Regions from separate parts of the Homo sapiens genome. Here region 1 is linked to region 2. Evidence: promoter capture Hi-C in human tissues and cell types (Jung and others, 2019). All regions are on one chromosome and are shown on one strand. Each heading gives the region's core, a stretch centred on a gene start or on the middle of the fragment in contact. The rest is flanking DNA. Distances are from core to core; before and after follow the strand shown.

Evidence for each region. Contacts are between HindIII fragments. The study calls those that stand out against the background at their distance.
Region 1: a fragment that was not itself captured here is called in contact with the fragment with the promoter of CHRNB3 in region 2 in 2 of the 25 tissues and cell types used here (hippocampus and pancreas).

The regions. Positions count from the first base shown.
Region 1 is chr8:42,431,498-42,436,297 of GRCh38, forward strand. All of the region lies in intron 8 of SLC20A2 (solute carrier family 20 member 2), which reads right to left. Among named protein-coding and RNA genes, the nearest start is that of VDAC3, 42 kb to the left of the region's middle. The HindIII fragment of the contact is 7,335 bases long and covers 1-4,800 here.
Region 2 is chr8:42,694,624-42,699,743 of GRCh38, forward strand. It overlaps CHRNB3 (cholinergic receptor nicotinic beta 3 subunit), which reads left to right and starts at 2,743. Exons shown (of 6, transcript NM_000749.5): 1 at 2,743-2,975. The coding sequence starts at 2,924. LOC124900250 (a long non-coding RNA gene) reads right to left here and starts at 4,268. Exons shown (of 3, transcript XR_001745887.2): 1 at 4,189-4,268; 2 at 2,703-2,877; 3 at 1,875-1,952. The HindIII fragment of the contact is 12,880 bases long and covers 1-5,120 here.

The sequences.
Region 1 (4,800 bases), core at 104-2,603, 260 kb before region 2:
AGCAAGTGCTGATGGAGAAGCTGCAGCGAGTTCTCCAGAAGATCCATCTAAGATCACTGATGAAGGTGGCTACACTAACAATAGATTTTCAATGTAGAAGAACAGTCTTCTATTGGTAGAAGATGCCAGCTAGGACTTCCATAGCCAGAGAGAAGGCAATGCCTGGCTTCAAAGCTTCAAAGGACAGGCTGACTCTCTTCTCAGAGGCTAATGCAGCTGGTAACTTTAGTTGAAGCCAATGTTCACTTACCATTCCAAAACTCCTATTGCTCTTAGGAATGATGCTAAATCTACTCTGCCTGTGCTCTAGAAATGGAACAACAAAGCACATCTGTTTACAGCATGGTTTACTGAATATTTTAAGCCTACTGTTGAGACCTACTGCTCAGAAAAAAATATTAATATTTCAAAATATTACTGCTCATTGACAATGCACTTGGTCACCAGAGAGCTCTGACGGAGATATGCAAGGAGATGAATGTTGTTTTCCTGTCTGCAAACACAGCATCTGTTCTGCAGCCCATGGATCAAAGAGCAGTTTGACTTTCAAGTCTTATTACTTAAGAAATACACTTTGTAGGGCTAGAGCTGCCATAGATAGTGATTCCTCTGATGGGTCTAGGGAGTCCATTGAAACCTTCTGGAAAGGATCCCCCATTCCAGATGCCATTAGAACATTCGTGATTCATGGGAGGAAGTGCAAATACCAACATTAACAGGAGTTTGGAAGAAGCTGATTCCAACTCTCACAGATGACTTTGAGGGATTCAAAACTTAAATGAAGGAAGCCACTGCAGATGTGGTGGAAACAGCAAGAGAACTAGAAGTGGAGTCTGGCGATGTGACTGAACTACTGCAATCTCATGAAAGAACTTGAAAAGATGAGGAGGTGCTTCTTATGGATGAGCAAAGAAAGTTTCTTGAGATGAAATCTACTCCTGGTGAAGATGTTGTGAACATTGTTGAGATGACAACAAAGGATTTAGAATATTCCACAAACTCAGTTATCAGAGCAGAGGCTGGGTGTGAGGGGATTGACTCCAATTTTGAAAGAAATTCTACGGTGGGTAAAATGTTATCAAACTGCATTACATGCTGCAAAGAAATCTTTTGTGAAAGGAAGTTAATTGATGCGGCAAATTTCATTGTTGTCTTAATTTAAGAAATGGCCACAGCCACCCCAACCTTTAATCACCACCACCCTGATGAGTCAGCAGACATCAACATCAAGGCCCAGACCCTCCATCAGCAAAATAATGAATTGCTGAATGTTCACAGGATTGCTAGCATTATTTTTTAGCAATAAAGTATTTTCAAATTAAGGTATGTACATTGTTTTTAAGACGCATTTAATAGACTATGGTATACTATTACAGAAACATAACTTTTCTATGTACTGGGACACCAAAAACTTCATGGGTATTGTGAAACTTGTTTTATTGTAGTGGTCTGGAATGGAACCCACAGTGTCTCCCAGGTGTTCCTGTACATGGTGACTTTTGTCTTGAGCATAGCTCAACTTGGTGTATTTGAGGTTCACCTATATAATCTATTCATGGTCCAAATGATTTTTTTTTAATTTTGGTAAAAAGCATAACATAAAATTTACCATCGTAATCATTCTTATTTATAGTTCAGCAGTGTTAAGTATATTTACATTGTTGTGAAACAGATCTCCAGAACTTGTTCATCTTGCAAATGTGAAACTCTGCACTCTTTAAACAAATTCCCACTGCCCCTCCCCGCAGCTAATGGCAACCACCATCCTACTTTCTAGTTCTAGGAATTTGACTGCTGTAGACAGCTCATAGAAGTGGAATCATAGAGTATTTATCTTTTTTTTTGAGATGGAGTCTTGCTTGGTTGCCCAGGCTGGAGTGCAGTGACATGATCTCGGCTCACTGCAATATCCTCCACCTGGGTTCAAGCAATTCTCCTGCCTCAGCCTCCTGAGTAGCTGGGATTACAGGCACGTGCCACCACGCCTGGCTAATTTTTTGTATTTTTAGTACAGATGGGGTTTCACTGTGTTAGTCAGGATGGTCTTGATCTCCTGACCTCATGATCCGCCCGCCTCAGCCTCCCAAAGTGCTGGGATTACAGGCATGAGTAGTATTTATCTTTCTGTGATGGTTTATTTCACTTAGCCTAATGTCCTCCAGGTTCATCCATGTTACAGCAAGTGACAGGACTTCCTTCTTTTTAAAGGCTAAATAATATTCCAGTGTATGCATGGACATAATTTGTTTCCATTCACCTGGCAGTGGACATCTGGGTTGTTCTCCCCTCTTGCCTATTGCAAACGGCAGTGCTTTGAACATGTGGTACAAATATCTCTTTGAGACTCTGCTTTCAATTCTTCTGTATGTATACCCGGAAGCAGGAATGCTGGGTCATAGGGGAGGTCTGTTTAATTTTTTGAGGAGCCTCCATCCTGTTTTCCATAGTGGTTACACCATTTTACACCCCCACTAATGGTGCACAGGGTTACAATTTCTCTACATCCTTGACAACACTTGTTACTTTTTTTTTTAAGTGGTAGCCATCCTAATAGGTGTGTAATTTATTATTATTATTTTTGAGAGAGTCTCCCTCTGTTGCCCAGGCTGGAGTGCAGTGGCACAATCTCACCAGGCTGGAGTGCAGTGGTGTAATTTCGGCTCACTGCAACCTCCGCCTTCTGGGTTCAAGTGATTCTTGTGCCTCAGCTTCCTGAGTAGCTGGGACCACAAGTGCCCAGAAACAGGCCCAGCTAATTTTTGTATTTTTAGTAGAGGTGGGGTTTCACCATGTTGTCCAGGCTGGTCTTGAACGCCCGACCTCAGGTGATCCACCTGCCTCGGCCTCCCGAAGTGTTGAGATTATAGGCGTGAGCCACCACACCCGGCCTATTAAATGGATTATTTTTTTTTTTGAGACAGTCTCACTCTGTCGCCCAGGCTGGAGTGCAGTGGCATGGTCCCAGCTCACTGCAAGCTCTTGTCTCCTCCCCCAGCCAGCTGTGTAGACTGGGTATCACTGAGTCACTGAAACTGGATTCCAATTTGGCTTTGGTTTTGCTGTGTGGCCCTGAGCATCAGATCCCATCTCTGAGAGACACCCGCCCCTGGCTCAGAGGGATGTTAGAGACAGGGTGGGATAGGCCATGGCAGCTCAGTGCTGAGGCCTCGGGGCTCAACCTCGTGCTGAATGCATGGACGCCTCTTCTCACTCAGATGACTTCTAGAATGGTGCTTTCACCAGACGCTCTCCCTGCTCCAAAGCCCCAGAATAGTCCCCACGCTGCAAGCAACTCTTCGCAATTCTACAGTCACCCCGAGCAGCCACTGCCTAGATGCTTCCTTTGAAATGAAACATGGTGTGTGTGTGAATGTGCGTGAGTCCATGTGTGAGTGTGCGTGTGAGTGCGCATGTGAGTGTGTGTGCGTGTGTGTGTGCATCTGAGTGTGTGAATGTTAGAGAATGTGTTGTTACTTTTCCACGGATATGTTTTTCTCATCTCCCTAACTGGCGTTTAAACTTCTAATGGACGAGGACCCAGTTCCTAGCGCTCTGCCAGTACCAGGCCTTCTGGAAAGAATGCTTGATGAGGAGGAGGAAGTGGGACGGTGTGGGGGCAGACAAAAAGTTACTAACATAGGACAGAGCATGCTGTCTCCAAGAAAATACCAAATAAAATACCACAGAAATGCCCATATGATGCTGAGCAGAACATAAGATGCCCAGGTTCATCTGCAGCGAGACTTCTTTTACGAACAGCAGAGTTGCAGCTGCACGTGGGGAGGCAGTGTGCGTAGCCCATGGGGAGTCACTGACTGCGACAGAAGACGACAACGGCACAGTCCCCTGAAAGGTCAGTGGACTCACCATGACCGTGATGGCAAGAGCAGAAACGGACAGAAACCGAGCGAGTGGGGAGCACCATCCTGAGCATATTACACAGGGGAAGCCTGGGAGGTTAGGACTCGTTTTCCCCCATTTTACAGATTGGGAAACGGAGACTTCGGAAAAGCACATGCCTTGTCTAGGGGTTACACAGCTGTAAGACGACAGCAGAGACCCAAACTTGGGGCTCTCAGGCCCCAGGAGGCCGCCCTGCTTCCTACACACCAGGCCTGGGCGTGGGGTGGGGCAGGTGGGGTGGGTGGGGTCAAGGTTGGAGGGTCATATCTGCCCATCCCTACACACTCATTTGCAGGATGCCTGCGACATTACCATGTGGAGTGACCTGCAGGCTCGGGCGGCAGCTCCAGCGGCTGCATCGTGCAGTGGGGAGAACTAGGGCCCACGAGTGGGACGGAGCCTTCTCACTGGGGTTGAAGATGTCACTGAAGGATGGCCGGGTGTGGTGGCTCACACCTGTAATTCCAGCACTTTGGGAGGCTGAGGTGGGCGGATCACCTGAGGTCAGGAGTTTGAGACCAGCCTGGCCAACATGGGAAACCCCGTCTCTACTAGAAATAGAAAAATTAGCCGGGCCAGGTTGGGGAGCCTGTAATCCCAGCGGCTTGGGAAGGCTGAGACAAGAGAATCACTTGAACTTGGGAGAAGGAGGTTGCAGTGAGCTGAGATTGCGCCACTGCACTCCAGCCTGGGGAACAGAGCGAGACTCCGTCTTAAAAAAAAAAATTAAATCACCTCCTAGGAAGTTCTCCTAGCGTCCTGGTTCAGCATACCTTCTGGCTGTTTCCTCGGTCTGTGCACTCTGCCTCCTGCCTGCCTGCCTCACTGCCCCAGTGCTCCTCCACCCACGTTACCTGCTCTGCACCCAGCCCGGCCTGTCCTGAACTCGGGCGTACA
Region 2 (5,120 bases), core at 1,493-3,992:
CCTTACATGTACTACAGAACCAACCACAATGCTCCTTTTTGTCCCCTTAGAGGTCATGAAATAATTTCTCAAAGTTTCTCCTTTTCTCATCATTAATACCAAAATGTCCTTTTCTTTAAAAAATCTTTTGTCTTTCCTGCCTTAATAACCTTTTTAATGGTGTTGTTTTATATTCTAAAAAGTAAAAGTTATAAAAAGCTCAGTTGAAGGGTGTTGACTCATACATCAACTGGGTGACCACAATGCTATCATGCATGTTAGTGTGTGTGCTTGTGTGTGTGCACTGGAAGGAAGTAAAGCATTGATGGTGATTGGATTAGAATCATGGACTGTAAGTGGTCTTGAAATGTAGTATTAGGATTACACTGCTTTCATGATTACTAAATGCCAATCAGAACTTACATCTTCAATTGAAAGCACACCTGGCCGGGCTCGCACAGTGGCTCACACCTGTAATCCCAGCTCTTTGGGAGGATGAGGCAGTTGGATCACTGGAGGTTGGGAGTTCGAGACTAGCCTGGCCAATATGGTGAAACCCTGTTTCTACTAAAAATATAAAAATTACCTGCACGTGCTGGTGGACACCTGTAATCCCAGCTACTCAGGAGGCTGAGGCAGGAGAATTGCTTGAACCTGGGAGGTGAAGGTTGTAGTGAGGCGAGATTGCGCCACTGCACTCCAGCCTGGGCAACAGAGCAAGACAGCCTCTTTTCCTGTGTCTATTTGATGTCCGCTTTTCCCCCCAAAGTCTAAACTCAATGGAGAGATGATTTGAGGTTTCTACAGTGGGATGGTGAAGAGTTGAGTATCTTTGCAGGGAGAAAGGTGGCTGTAAAGTGAGACAGAAAAGAACTTCCCAAGGCATAGGAAGGGGCTGGCAGGTCCTTCTGGCAGCAGGACCGTGCCCTGCTCAGGGTTGCACTCAAGGGGTGCAGTCCTCAGCAGGCCAGGGTTGTGTGGGACCCAGGGAGGCAGGGTCCTGTTACCAAGGCCTCCGGTATTGGCAGAATCCTGGGTCTTGGCAGAATCCTTGGCATCGGAGAAGGCAAAGAGCAACCGAGCTGTTGGCTCCATGGGACCGTGTGGGTGGGGCATGGACCCCAGCTGTGGTCAAGGCAGCCTGGAGGATACAAGACTGTGCCATATTTTGGGGACCACAAAAGGCTTCCAGATTCAGTTGCTCCCCTAGGGAGAAGGCTGCAGGGCCTGCAATGACTGAGATTGGATTTCCAGCCAGTTCCATGGAAGGCTAGCTTCATTTTATTCAATTTCTTGAAAATAAAGGTGAAACTTCCTGCACACTTGGATTGGCGGTGGCTGATTTACTCCTGAGACCATTACAAATTCTCAGCAGGCTGGGAGCACAGTTGAGATGGATAGGAGGAAATCAGTGCATGGCTCCTTCCTTCCTCCTTGCATTCCCACAACGTTCTCAAGCATTTGCAGGTGTCAGGCCCTGGACACAGAGAGATACAGAGGAGACTCCAGAGGGCTGGAGACCAAGCCCTCCTGCAGGAGCTGGTGGTCTAGGAAGGGAGGCCAGGCAGGGCAGCGACATTGTGATGTGAGGGGCTCTGAGACAGGGGCCCTGAGGAACAGACAGGGCTCAAGAGCTCAGGGTCCCGGGGTCCTGGGCTAGACCTCTTTTCCACACATGATGCCTCCTTACCGAGCACCCTCTGGGTGTCTCAAACTCACTAATGGCACACAGAGGAGGGTTAAATTAAGAAATTTAAAAATTGGACTAAATCACTGCCGCTAAGACAGAATTCCTCCATGCCCTGGAGTGGGTTCCTCCAGCACTCAGTTCCCAACCAGATAGGTCTTGGCTCCCACCTGGCCCTCTTGTCTGTCTAGCCCTGACTTTGTACTTGCCATTCATTTGATGTATCATGCATTTATCAAGGGCCCTCTGGGTGTGCACAGCACTGAACTAGATGAAATCTGATCAACTGTGAAGAAGAAAGGATGGTGTTATTAGTGTCCAAGTCTCATACATAAAACACCACTAACCTCCCACCCTACTGTCCCCTGCAGTGACCAGAAGGTGGGCCTGGTGGGGTCAAGGGAGCCACAGAGAATGTGCTGATATTAACACATGTGGGAACCAGCAGAATAGGGAGGCTCCAGGACATACTCATGACTTCAGGTCCAACTGGAAAAGAGAATAGAGAGGCTGGGCGCAGTGGTTCATGCCTGTAATCCCACCACTTTGGGAGGCCAAGGCGGGCGGATCTCCTGAGGTCAGGAGTTCAAGACCAACCTGGCCAACATGGTGAAACCCTGTCTCTACAAAAATACAAAAATTAGCTGGGCATGATGGCAGGTGCCTATAATCCCAGCTACTCAGGAGGCTGAGGTGGGAGAATGGCTTGAACCTGGGAGACGGAGGTTGCAGTGAGCCGAGATTGCACCATTGCACTCCAGCCTGGGTGACAGAGTGAGACTCCATATCAAAAAAAAAAAAAAAAGAATAAAAAGAAAAAGAAAAGAGAATAGAGAAATAACGGGGATGAGAAACTTTTCACTATGGATGTGGTAAAGTGTGGTTCTTCTGTACGCAGATCTCCAACTGTAAGAAAAATAGCACAGAACATTCAGAAGTTGTCTAGTTTCATCCTTTCTCCAGTGCCCCGCATCTCTTGCAAGGGAGTAAATTAATAAGTCAGGAGTTAGGACCCAGAGATATGTTTTAGACTTACACGATCTGACAGCTGACTGCAAATCAATGAAGTGCACTTTGAGAAGCGGCACACTCGGCGAGAGGGGTTGAGATTGTTTTATTCCACTCCAGGTGTTGCTGTCCTCTTGGGTTCCACTTCGGATTTTGAACCCCTGTATTTTCTTTTCAAAACCCCCTTTTCCAGTGGAAATGCTCTGTTGTTAAAAAGGAAGAAACTGTCTTTCTGAAACTGACATCACGATGCTCCCAGATTTTATGCTGGTTCTCATCGTCCTTGGCATCCCTTCCTCAGGTAAGCACAAGTCACAGTAAATTAAAACTACAGTTGCAGAATTATTTAAGCAGAGGAGGCAAAACTATGGTGTTGATAATGTTAGAATTACAATATGTAATGCACAAGATACATTTAGGATAACCTTTAAAATGTGGCCCAAATGAGTAATTCTGTGAGATGTGGGGTTTTTTTTGCTGAAGAAATCATATCTATGATTTTCATAATGTTTATGTTTTTGTCATTTGCTGCGTTTCTCCTTCTGAATCACTATGAGCTTGGTAAGAAAATACAAAAGCAGGAAAAACATTATTGAATGCACTGAGCATTACTCAGAGAATTGTTCAAATATTTGGCACAGAAATTTACTATATCAACATTTTTCTATCATATTTACCAATAATTTCTATATCTGCATGTAGATATTTAATTTTGTCCAATATGCCCTGTAGGCCTATATATTTTAATAAATCTGTGTATGTAGGTAGATTTAGCATGTTTATATATCACAATTAAACACCAATGTATCAAAACTCTATGTGTTTTATGTGACTATTATCAACTGAAAATAGAGGAATTTTTGATAAGGATAAAGGACAAATAAAAGGAAAAAGTGAAAGATAGAGACAGAGATGCAGAGAAAGAACAAAAAGAGAAAAAGAAAGGGGAATAAAGTACTGAAAGGCTTTGGGGATTGGTCATTTGCACCTGCCAATTTCCTGGGTTTGGGAATCTTTTCACTTTTTGTGTAACTTGAGAACAGAAAGTTTTCCCCCATTGAATCAGAAACCATCTGAAACCGCAGCCAGATGGTGAGAAAAGTGTCAGTTCACTAGCAATTTGTATTAATTTCTCAGTAGTATTTTTGCCACGTTTGATTATTGTAATTTTCAAATGGAGAACTGGAGACACTAAGGGAGATTTGCCCAAATCCAGAAATAAATTCTACATTTCAAGTTCCCAAGGCTGCGAGGCACCTGAACATTATCCTGTTGTCAAAAACGCCTTTTCTCAGACCAAGGACTCAAAGTCAAACAGGAATTTCTAAATGCAGAAAGCCTCAAACTCACTTTCAAATATCATGAAATTTGGACTTTTCAAAGTCTTGAATGCAGTTTGCCAATCACAAAAATGATAAGAAAATTCTGTGTGTTTGAGCTTACCATTAATGTACGTGTGTCTGATGTTTTTCTGTCTTTATTATTCTATTTATTATAAGACAATTGATTCTTACCACTCTTTTCCCAAGGAATGATTTCTCTCAATGGTTAGCGAGGGTGTTTAGCATAAACTCTCTTGGTTCAGCTAAGTCTCGTCCTCTGTGTACAATCATGATTACATAAGAAAACTGGAATTGCTTGGCCTCTGGCATTGGTCTCCATTGTGTGGGCTGGAAGAGTTTGGGAAGATTGTGTAATCTTTCACAGATCTATAATAAATCTAATAACCTGTGATAAATCTTACATCTGTATTTCTAGATCCATCAGCATCTGCTCATATTTTTAAATCTGTCCCATATTTCCTTACATTTTTTAACTTTACTATTCATTGTAAACAAAATAGTTTCTTTTTGTTATGCAAAACTACTTTTTTCAAATTACAAGAGGCAACCCCTTCATTTTTATATTTCTGGCTTTGGTAAAAAGGAGCCTTGGGTGTGGCCATGGGTTGTCTCTCATATTGCTATTTCATATTTTGTGTGTGCTATCTGCTCTCAAAAAGCAGGAGGTGTATCTTATTTATCTTCCCATCTCTCTTACAACATGATGATATGATAAGACACAATGTGTTTATTCATTCAATAAATACTTATTGAGCATCTACTGTATCCTAGGAATGGTTCCAGTGTCTAGGAATGCAAGAGGAAATAAAAACAAAGCCATTTTCTAATAAGCTCTCAGCTGGGCATCATGGCTCACACCTGTAATCCCAACACTTTGGGAGGCCAAGGTAGGCAGATCACCTGAGGTCAGGAGTTTGAGGCCAGCCTGACCAACATGGTGAAACTCCGTTTCTACTAAAAATACAAAAAATTAGCCAGGCGTGGTGGCACACGCCTGTAATCCCAGCTGCTCGGGAGACTGAGGCAGAAGAATCGAATCGCTTGAACCTGGGAGGCAGAGGTTGCAGAAAGCCGAGATCACACCACTGCACTCCAGCTTGGGC